Linked DNA regions of Homo sapiens: all the other regions are linked to region 1. Evidence: promoter capture Hi-C in human tissues and cell types (Jung and others, 2019). All regions are on one chromosome and are shown on one strand. Each heading gives the region's core, a stretch centred on a gene start or on the middle of the fragment in contact. The rest is flanking DNA. Distances are from core to core; before and after follow the strand shown.

The links. The method cuts DNA at HindIII sites, captures the fragments that hold promoters and counts their contacts. A contact is called where the count stands out against the background at its distance.
Region 2: a contact is called between a fragment that was not itself captured here and the fragment with the promoter of CITED2 in region 1, in 1 of the 25 tissues and cell types used here (lymphoblastoid cells).
Region 3: a contact is called between a fragment that was not itself captured here and the fragment with the promoter of CITED2 in region 1, in 1 of the 25 tissues and cell types used here (lymphoblastoid cells).
Region 4: a fragment that was not itself captured here is called in contact with the fragment with the promoter of CITED2 in region 1 in 1 of the 25 tissues and cell types used here (lymphoblastoid cells).

What each region holds. Positions count from the first base shown.
Region 1 is chr6:139,373,303-139,376,113 of GRCh38, forward strand. CITED2 (Cbp/p300 interacting transactivator with Glu/Asp rich carboxy-terminal domain 2) reads right to left here and starts at 1,346. Exons shown (of 2, transcript NM_006079.5): 1 at 1,111-1,346; 2 at 1-650. The coding sequence starts at 642. RefSeq lists silencers at 55-154, 725-874, 1,335-1,714, 1,885-2,194 and enhancers at 445-504, 1,015-1,184. The HindIII fragment of the contact is 4,975 bases long and covers 1-2,811 here.
Region 2 is chr6:140,557,013-140,559,823 of GRCh38, forward strand. The region is part of intron 1 of LOC105378027 (a long non-coding RNA gene); the gene reads left to right. Among named protein-coding and RNA genes, the nearest start is that of MIR4465, 130 kb to the right of the region's middle. The HindIII fragment of the contact is 5,092 bases long and covers 1-2,811 here.
Region 3 is chr6:140,507,462-140,510,272 of GRCh38, forward strand. No RefSeq gene overlaps it. Among named protein-coding and RNA genes, the nearest start is that of MIR4465, 170 kb to the right of the region's middle. The HindIII fragment of the contact is 4,567 bases long and covers 1-2,811 here.
Region 4 is chr6:140,394,129-140,396,939 of GRCh38, forward strand. No RefSeq gene overlaps it. Among named protein-coding and RNA genes, the nearest start is that of MIR3668, 190 kb to the left of the region's middle. The HindIII fragment of the contact is 3,780 bases long and covers 1-2,811 here.

The DNA of each region.
Region 1 (2,811 bases), core at 96-2,595:
CGGCAGCATTGCAGCGGGGACGTGGGCCACGGAGGCGGGCATGTTGCCGCTGCCGCTGCCGCCGCCGCTGTTGCTGCTGCCCGCGCCGCCGCCCGAGCTGCTGCCAGAGCCGCCGGGGGTGCTGCTGCCGCCCGAGCCGCCGGGGGTGCTGCTGCCGCCGCTGTGCTTGGGGTTGCAATCTCGGAAGTGCTGGTTTGTCCCGTTCATCTGGTGGCCTGCAGCAGGGTGCAAATCCGGCATGTAGTGGTTGTGGGGGTAGGGGTGATGGTTGAAATACTGGTTGTTGAGCTTCTGCAGCTGCATGCTGGCCGGCAGGGAGCCTCCCTGGCTGGCCACCGGGGGACCCATGAACTGGGAGTTGTTAAACCTGGCCGCGGGGGCCAGCGCGCTCGGGGGGTGCCCTCCGTTCACAGTCCCCGGCCCCATCGCATGCCTGATGCCGCTCGTGGCATTCATGTTGCCCGCGCCGTAGTGTATGTGCTCGCCCATTAGGGCGTTGAAGGCGTGCTGGGGCTGCTGCTGCTGGTGGTGATGGGGGCTCGGGAACTGCCCCATGCCCATGCGGTGGGCAGGGTGATGGTGCAGCCCATTGGTGCCGTCGGGGAAGCGCCCGTGGTTCATGGCCATCATATGGTCTGCCATTTCCAGTCCTGGAAGTGAAAAGGGCAGATAATGAGACCCGCGCCACACGTGTCGCCCACCACAGCGCACCCCACTTTTGCTCGCCTCTGCCCCCCAGGATTCCCGGGCGCACGTCGGCTGCGAACCACCACCCCCAAGATCCCACTAACAGCCTGTGCACCCGGGCTAGCCACCACGGAAGAGCTACCACTCATAACACAGCCGGACGCTGCACAAACAGCCCCTTCCCCTGCGATCGGGCGGGGGGACCCGAGCCCACACCCCCTTTGCTCCCCGAAGTGGCCTAATAAAGGAAGTGCCCCGTAGCCCTGCTGCGAACTTCAGGCATTAAATCAGCCCTCCTCATCCTGTTGTTGCACATCCTGTTGTTATTCCCCAGCTTCGCCTCACGCTCTTCCTCCGGGCAAACCCTGCCCTCGGAGGACTGGGCTGGCAAGAGCCCCAGCCAGCTTCGCCCGTCGCGCTTACCTTCCGTTTTTGCGATTTCTGCTCCGAAGACCGAGGGCGGGCTCGTCGCGTCCAGGACCGGCTCAGCAGCACATAGAGGGGACCTTCCTGGCGTGCAAAGCGCTTCGCTGTCGCGATGTCGGCGCCGAGGTCTCGCAGCGGCCGCTGGGGCAGATTCGGAGCCGTTCCCTTTTATTTCCCCTCCGTTGCCCTCACAGCTCGGCAGGACCGCCCGGCAGCTGCCAACAATGAGCTGTGTTTCTTAGGGCTTTGGCCACAGTTAATATAGGCATTTCGGAAAGGCGGAGCGAGAGCCTCCAGGGCGGGCGGCGCCAAGACGCGGATTCCGGAACACCGCGAACACCCTGGACCGGGTCCCGGAGCCGCGTCCCCGCCGCCCGCGGCACGTGCTGCAGAGGCTGCGGGGCCCGGGGGCCGCCCAGTCGCCCCGTCGCCCCCCGACTCTGGTTTCTTCCCGGCCCAGAAACGCGAGGTTGGCTCAGCCACCCCCGAGGCAGGGGGAAAATCCTCCCCTGCCGCCCCGCCCGAAGGTAGAGCCTGCCGGGATAGCCACGAGGAGAGCTCACCGCCCCCCTCAGGCTGGATCTACCCCACCCCCAGCTTTCTCACTCGGTTCACCTAGCGATCTGCCCCGCTCTCTACGGGAAAAGGGGACTCGCCCAGCGCCCCCCGCCCTCCAGAGTGCCCTTGTGCCTCCCCGGTTTTGCAAAAGCTTCCACAGGCAGCGAAGAATGGCTGTGCTTCCTCGAGTTGGGTTTTAAAGACCCGGACAAATAATGCGCCCTTTCCTGAGCGCGCCTTCCTAGGCTGTGCCTTTGTGTTTTCATACGGGCAGTGGGTAGACCTACTCTAGATCACCGCTTGTAGATGCATTTTTTTCCTCCACTCCTTTCAAGGACAGGAGCTGGGGGCGGGGAGGGGCAGCCGCTGCAGGTGGACGGAGCGCGCTCGAGGGCCCGGCCACCCCCGCTCCCGCGCCCTGGAATTCCAGTCCGCGCTTTCGGGCCCGCCTGCCGCTCCCGGGGTACGTGTGCTTCTGCTAAGTTTGCGTTTGCAGCTCTTGGTAGCTTTGGCATCCGAGCTGAGGCGTCTCTGCTCTGTAAACAAACTCAGCGATCCTCGTCCCCAGATCCACCTTTTTGCACATACACAGTTACTTGCTTCTGCTGTTGCCCTGGATCCGGGAGGTGGGGGTGTGTACAAACTTGCAGAGCCTCCCTCCGGGCTCTGCCTGACGGTTTGGGGTTGATTTAGAAGCAAACGGGTTTGTAATTAAGAAATTTGAGGGCTGAGTAAGGCTGCTCTTGCTGGAAAAGGAAAACAAATAGATAACGTGGTAATCGCTTTGTAAATAAAGTCGTTCTGGAGGTGGGCACGTAGCTGCACGTCCCGTATGGCACCACGCGCACACACACGGCTGGGACTCTTCCTTTTCAGTGAAATTGTTCAGTGGGGCAATGGGCGATAATAATAACCTTGCTTCCACAACGCGGCACAACGAGCCTGGTCGCCCGTTTGGTTCATTGACTTGCAAATAAAACCCCTAACACAGGTCTGGGCTACTACCAAGTCGGAGCTCTCTGGCTTTCTCACATGGGGAAGCCGAGTTGTTTCCCCAACACCATGATGGGGCTGTTCTGAGCTTTTACATTGCTCTTTATGTGGTAAAATCGAGTTTAGCGCTCCGAATAAGGACTTCTG
Region 2 (2,811 bases), core at 183-2,682, 1.2 Mb after region 1:
TTTTTGTAACTAAAAATATATAATCTATGCTCCTGTTTGAATGTGAGCATATTTAGATTTTCTTTAAAATGATTAATTAACTAAGCAAATATTTATAGAATTTTTACTATAAATTCGGTGAATCCGTGTCCTAGACAAGGAAAAATGAATCTTCAAAAGAGTCCCCTATCCAAAGCGGAGGGGATGGGGGAAAGTGGAGAGAAGAAAAAAGGGTGTTTTTAAAAGTGCTAAACAAACTGATTTTAGCTAATGCAAAATGGCGGCTGAGGCGAGTATAGATATTTCAAGTAACACTTGGAACAAAGAATTGACTGAGTCAAATTCACCCGGTTGGTCCCAGGCAAGCTTTAAACATTTTCTTGATGGCTGGATTGTAAGCCTGATGTGGAGTAATTCAGCTTAGTTACAAACATTCACCTTCAGAAGTAAATTTATTCTATATGATACTACATCAGTCAAAAAATCCTGGATGATTTTTGTCCGAATTGTATGAGCTCTTAGCTAAATGTAACCAAGTGACTAATGTTGGCCAATGAGATGTATTTTAAAATGCAAGCCTTTGTGAGGACTACTTAAAATTGATATCTCAGGCAGAAAGTACTTTTTGACCGGTCCACTTATTTCCTCCTTTAGGCTTGGACCTGTAATGTAATGGCTGATGCTTCAACCTTTATGGTCCTTAAGATGATACGAAGTTATAACCACAAGTTAGAAAGGTGAAAAAAGGACAAGAGTAGGCTGGCTCTCTGATGATTATAGTTGCCCATATCAGCCCTGTTCTGTTCACCTTCAGAGTCTTCTCCATGAGAGACAAATAAAGATTTCATTTGCTTTTAGGCCAGTACAATTCTTAATTCATTCATCAGACTAGAAAAATAAAGGAATATCTTAACACTTTACCAAAATCTCTGTTATTTTCTCCTTCTTGCACCATAGAAAATATTTCTATGCAGTTTTCAACTTTACTTATGGGCAGAAATTTCAGAATCCCATTGAATTTCAGGGATTGGGTCACTGCCTTCGTGCAGTAGTAACAATGACAATGAAGAGAGTCTTATGGTTTCTTCCATTTCCCCAATGTCTCTTATTTTGTATCCTCTGATGTTAAACAGAGCATCTATACAAAACCTTCTCTTCGTACCGATCTTCCCTTTGTTGTCCATTTCTTCCCGTCATCATTAATCTCTCCAATTTCTTTTTAAGACATCATATGAGCTTCTTTCTAACATTAATCTTTCTTTTATTTTCTCAATATTAGACTTTACTCTTTCCTAACTCAAGATGGGTTGCTGATGGAATATGAATTAGTTTCCTAAGGCTGCTGAAAAAAACTACTACAAGCAGGGTAGCTTAAACAATATTTATTCTCTCACAGTTCTGGAGGCCAGAAGTCAATACTTGAGTTGTTGGCAGGGCATGCTTTCTGAAGGCTCTAAGGGAAAGTCTATTCTATGGCTCTCTCTCTTAGCTTCTAGTTTTGCTGGCAATGCTTGGCACCCCTTGACAGGTAAATGCATCACTCTCATTTCTACCTCTGTCATCATGTGGCATTCTCCCTGTGTGTCTCAATCTGTTCCTCTCTTTTCTCTTCTTATAAGGCCACCAGTCATCTTGGACTAAGGCTCAATCTAAATAGGTATGAACTTTGTGTAACTTGAGTACATCTGTGAAGACACTATTGCCAAATAAGGTCACATTCACAGGTACCAGAGGTTAGGACTTCAATATATCTGTTGGAGGGACACAATTCAAAATGTGAATTCGGCCACTATGACTGCCATGAATGCCACTATCCAGAGAGGGATGGTCAGCTGTGGATCTGCCTTTGGTTTAGAATTACTGCAGCAGGATATACTTTGAATGGTCATCAAGGATACAGAGTAGTTAAGGATTATGGAGTAGTTACCATGTGACAGGTGTTGTACTAAGCTCTTTCCCAAAAATACGCTTTATTTGCCTAGTATTTTTAAATACATCTGAAATAAATAAAATCAAAAGTATAGAAATTGATTCAATAACCTTGTTTTTTTTAAACAATAAGAGCAAAAATCTTGAAATAAAAAATAGATGAAATGAGAACTTAGCAATTAAATAAGACTAAGATATACCAATCTGTTGCTGTGTATGGACCTTATTTGAATTCTGATCAAACAAACTGTAATAAAAATTATGATACAATTGAGAAAATTTGAACATTAATTAGATAACTGGTGACATTAAAGTAATTAGTGTTAATTTATCTTAGATGAGATAATGATTAAATGTTATTTTTATAAAAAGGGCCCTAATTTTGTAGAATTATATACTGAAATATATACAGATAATCATGGTCCAATGGTTGTTCTTTCATTCATAATCTTTCTTAGGGAGCTATATATGTAGAAAATTGACCATTAATTGATAATTGTAAACATTGAATTATGACCACATGGAGATTGATCATATTCTTCTCAATTTGTGCATATTTTTGTAACTTTCATAATAAACAGAAGAAATGACTAGAAAATAACCTTTAATCTGTACATATAAAAACCATGTCTTAATAAGAAACTATTTTCTTTACCTGAAAAAATTTTAAAACAACACAATTATATAAAGCTTTGAGTTTAAAATGTTTTAACATTCTTTTAATGATGATATTGCATTAAATCTACATAACAACCAACAGATAATTAGGTGAGGGTATCAGCTGAATGTTTTCAAAAAAATAAAAGCTGAGCCATTCCTTTTAACCAATTGTAAAATCAAGTTCAAATTCCATTTCTTCAGGATTTTTAAATGGACCAGTAAGTCTTAGAACTACCTTTCTAG
Region 3 (2,811 bases), core at 90-2,589, 1.1 Mb after region 1:
TGTTATCTAGGCAATAATCATTGATGACAGAAAGATGATTTTAAAAATCCCTTCTTTCTAGAAGTTATTAGAAAATAATATTTTATTCTTAGTTATTAGTCAAGTATATTTTCTTTTCTTTTCTTTTTTCTTTTTCTGAGACAGAGTTTCTCTCTTGTTGCCCAGACTGGAGTGCAGTGGCGTGATCTTGGCTCATGGCAACCTCCACATCCTGGGTTCAAGCGATGATTCTCCTGCCTCAGCCTCCTGAGTAGCTGGGATTACAGGCATGTGCCACCATGCCCAGCTAATTTTTGAATTTTTAGTAGATACTGGGTTTCTCCATGTTGCTCAGGCTGGTCTTGAACACCCGACCTCAGGTGATCCGCCCACCTCGGCCTCCCTAAGTGCTGGGATTACAGGCGTGAGCCACGGCGCCTGGGCAGGCCAAGTATATTTTCAAATAACTTGGTAAATAATAGGTAAAATGATTGAGCATGTGCTAAGCACACTTCTAAGTTTTCCACATGCATTATCTTATTTAATGCTTACAACAATCATAATTACTCTTATGCCCATTTCAACAAGGAGGAAACTGAAACCTGTAAAGATTGAGGAATATGCGCAAGGTTGCACAGCTCATCAATGAGAGTCATGACTCAAACTCAGGGCGTCTGACTCTGGATCCAGGGTTCTCAGTGTGCTAGCATCACCTCAACAACAAGAGAATATAAAGTGCCATGGAATAAAATATAAATGTGATACATTTGGTTGGGTCAGTGGAAGGAAATGAGGTCAGAGATGGAAGCGGTGGAATGGAAATAATATTGGTATTGACTTTGTTTAAAGAGACATTTGCCTGACAGAAAATTGAGACTGAAGAACGGCATTTTAGAAAACAAGATATGTACATTTAAAGATGTAGAACCATAAAAATATACAGAATATTTAGCAAATGTTGAGAAGCCAAATGTGCCTAGAATTCTGGCTCCATGGGATGAGAGAATGACACAGGAGTCTACAATGGTAGAATGGAGCCCTGGATGTCTCTTGCAAAATAAATAAATTATATATTTTTTAATTCTGGCATGTCTTTAAATCTAATCACTAAAAATAACTAAATTATTTTTGTGTGCTTGGTCGTGAATAAGGAAAAATGAGATCAGCACATTATGGGCAAGACACATAGTGAGGTTATCCCAGGTTCAGAGAATGAATGCCATAAAAACTACTTTAAAGTTTATGAACTAAGGCTCATGACAATTTCTCTTCTGAGTTTATAGGTATTTTTTGAACCATCAGTGGTTTTGTGTAGAACAGGATGAGAAGATGTCAGTAATAAATTGTAAGAGGGGAGAGCTGTCAGATTATAAATTTTGCGCATGGTGTCTTGTTAAGGATGAAGATTTCCAGGACAGGCTCTTGGCATTAAAGGAAAGTCACCAAGAGCATTTGTGTGAGGTCCTCACACTCAGAATGTGCCTTTGATAATCTATTTTAGTGGATTCAAGAATAATAGAACTTGTATTTGTACATTTAATCAAAAGCACTAACGTACTTTTTATGGGTTTTTTATGCATAGTGAGTACTACTCAATTTGGTATTTTAGCTGTTACCTTTTACTTTTTAAATTTAAATGTTCCTTAAATGTATTTTAATCTACAAGATCTGCCACTATCTAGTTCATTTCCATTCAATTTATATGATACTTATTACCATAGTTCGTTTGAGTACTTGATATTTTTCTTAAATGTCTTCAGGCCCACATCACCAAGTATACTTATGTGCAAATAAGGGGCAACATGTATATTTTGCTAATAAAGATGTTAGATTTGGTAAGTGGAATTTGTTATTTGTAGATAAGAATAGAGTTTTAGTATAAATTACTTAGAAGCATTTGTCACACAAATTGAACTATTATTAGAGTAAATTCATAGGACTCAAATTAATTTTATGCACTTTCAGCCATGAGGAAAAGGCTTCTTTAATTTCTGTTCTATTTTTAAGCTTTAAAATTAGCATATATCTTTCATGTATTTTAGTATAAATAAAGATTATCTAAATTGTTACAATTACACTGAGGTCATAGCAGAGGTAATGATCCCAAAGGTATTAAAAAGAAGTAGATGTTTCTGTTAAACATTTTTTTCTATCTTCTGATGTGACCTGCTAATTACTTAGCACACACAAAAAAATGATACACTAACTGAATAAATTAGCGGCTAAGTAAAAAAAAAAAAAAAACCCAATTTCTAAAAAGGTTAGTTATATTTTCTCAGTTATGTTTCTGCCCTTTTTAATTTTAACTAATTACAATCTAATTTCTGGTATTTATTATTTTAGTGAAGTAGAATATTTAGGATATCAGAATTTCAATTGTTGAGTGGTGAGAATTTAAGGTTAAATATACATTATGCTGTTGGAACTTATTTTCATTTAAAATTAAAATAATTCTTTAATTTATTTCATTTATTTAAAATAAATTATTATTATTTGTTATTGTAGGCTATACTAGGCATAAAATGTTACTTCAAAAGTATTTATCAATTAAAATGTTGAACAATTAACCAAAATACGTTGTTACAAATTTTAAAAATTGTTAATGTCTAAAATATTGGGAGTACCTACTAAGGTATCAGAAGTATGTTACTTTTAACTAGTAACTCTGAATTTTACAGTAAAACATTTTAGGTGTTATTATACATTTAACTTAAATATGAAAAGTGAACTTCAGCATAGTTTAAAGAACATGTTCAAGGATGCATATCAAATAAATAGGAGTGCAAAGATTCAAAACCATGTCTGTCAGCATGAAAACCATTCTTTTTTTTA
Region 4 (2,811 bases), core at 222-2,721, 1.0 Mb after region 1:
CCAGATGGTCAATTCTATGAAGAAAGAGAGTAATGTTTATCTAGGGCATATAAGATTGAGGGGATAATGAGAACAGAGTTTTTTGGAGGGCTGATAAAAGTGATCTACAATTGACTGTGATGATGATTGCAAAACTTTGTAAATATACGAAAAGGAATTTAATCTGATGCTTTAACTATGTGAATTTTAGGGTATGTGAATTATATCACAATAAAGCTCATACAAAAAGTCTTTCTGGAAGACATCTGCTTATACCTCACTGATCAAAAATTCAGTCAGATGGTCATTCCTTGCTGCAAGAGATGGAGTGCCTAAAGAATAAAAGATGCTTTTAGCTTCTCTCTCTTTTTTAGTTAGACTAGTAAAAAGTTTGTTGATTTTGTTTATCTTTTTTAAAAAAAACCTCTCTTTTGTTTATCTTTTCTATCATTTTTCTAGGATTTATTTGATTTCTTTCTGCTCTGACGTTATTTCTTTCCTGCTATTAACTCTGGGCTAGTTATTCTTCTCTTTCTGTTTTTTGAGGTTTAATATTAGGTTGTTTAGTTGTGATCTTTCTGCTTTTCAGATGTGTTTATTGCTATAAACTTCTGTCTTAGAACTATTTTCACTGCATCCTATAAGCTTTGGTATGTTGTGTTTCCATTTTCATTTTTCTCAACATATGTTTTAATTTTGCTTTTAATTTCTTCCTTGATCGATTGGTTGTTTAGGATCATGTTGTTTAATTTCTACATATTTATAAATTTTCCAAATTTTATTCTGTTACTGACTTGTAGTTTCATGCCATTATGTTCAGAAAATATACTTGATATGATTTCAATTTTCTTAAATTTATTAAGATTTGTTTTGTGACCTAACATATAATCTATCCTGGAGAATGTTTTGTGCACTTGAGAAAAATGTGTAGTCTGTAGGGATTGAATGGAATGTTCTGTATACGTCTATTAGGTTCCTTTGGTCTGGTCTAGAGTGTAGTTCAAGTCCATTGTTTCCATATTGATTTCCTGCCTCCCTGAAACAATAGAATCCACTCCCTTCTCATTATAGGCATTAAGGAGTATTTTTTAAAATGACCACATCTACCATCACTTATGGTATTTTTAAATGGGGGTAATTTTCTCCTTATTTAAAGCAAACTGCTGTCTACACTCTGAGCAATCCATGTATATATATATCCATGTGCATGTATCCACGTATATGTATTAGGGATCAGTGTGCGTGTGTGTCACACAAAAATACAGTGGGGGAAGTATGCCTCTTGAAAATGCCTGGAAAGCTGTCAGTAAAAATTACTAGTTCTATGTAGTAAATAAATATTAACATGTTACTTGTTGAACACCACCGTGCAACTACTTAGTTGCACAGTCCAAGATTGGCAAATCTTTATCATCCTTTAGGTTAAGGTAGTTTATAGAACTTAGGGGAGAAAAAGAGAAGCTATGCATCCCGTATCACTTCTTGTTAATTTTTTTGTCAGATTATACTTCCCAAAGTGCATATGGAATCATATTGGGCCCCGCCTTATACATAATTATTTAAATTTCATTGGTTATCTGAATATTCTGAATAATAAATTCTCCAGCCAGGCATTTTCCAGTAGTAGTATTTTTCTAATATTCCTTCCTAATATGCCTCCCTCCTGCTGCTCACTGTTGTATCTCCATGTTTAAAGTTGTATTACTTTTACTGCTTCCAGTAGGACTCTGATAAACTCTTATGGGTTTTGTTAATGTTATTTCTACCTGAAATTCTCTCTGACTCCCAACTTTCTGTGTTAATATTAACTCATTCTTCCAGGTACACAATTGATTATGTATCTGCCATATTCTGTTTTCTTAACCCCTCAATATTCTCTTTTCTTTCAACCTTTGAATGTTGCTTGATTTGCATTTTAATATGGCATTTATGTTAATTCACCTTGGGTTATGAATATTTGAGTAACTTTCTTTATGTAGCTAAAGATTTCAAGCCCTTTGATGGAAGTTACTGCATCCTCGTTTATATTTCCAACACTGAAATTTGCATAAGGAAGGGGTTCAAGGTATAGAATTGAGAGAGTCTTAGTGACCCATAATGGAGAGATACTACATATATTTCTTGAATATAATTGTGCATTAACAACTGATGTTATACCAATACTCAGCAACAAAACATATTTCAATATAGCAGAAAACAGAGCATGTAGAAGGAGATGACTATGGGAAGACAAGAGTACCTCGGGGGCCAGATGGGCAGCAAGAAAATTACCATATATTATTTAGCAAACTGGTAAGCAATCTCCTGAGAACCAAATTCAAGGTCTTATTACCCTATTTGAACTCCTGAGGTTTTTTAGAGCCTCTGCTTATTTTCAAAATGAAAGACTTTCAAACACAGGCTGCTGTCACCTTTAGGGATTAAAATATTCACCAAGGTGAGAGGATAGAGCAGCTTTGAACAAAATCAACCACTTGTGGTTAGCAGAGAGGATGCTGAGGTCTTGATCTTGTTTGCTTCATGTACCATGTTCAGCTTTCCAAATATAAAAAAAAAAAAACAGGAAAATTGTCAATTATACGTATGTTTAAGAAATTAGTCGACATCTGCCACCTGGGACCGAATATTACCTCCAGTATTTTTCCAGTTATTTAATGTTTCTAAAAAATATCTACAATGCTCTAAAGTTCTGTTATATCCAGTAAATTTTCTTTTTCACAGCCTTAGAACTTATATCTGGAGAGCTATAGGATAACGATAATGGAGGTCTTTAAAATCTTTTTTTTTTTTTTAAGAAAGCATGCAGCTATGGTACTTACAGCACTACATTGC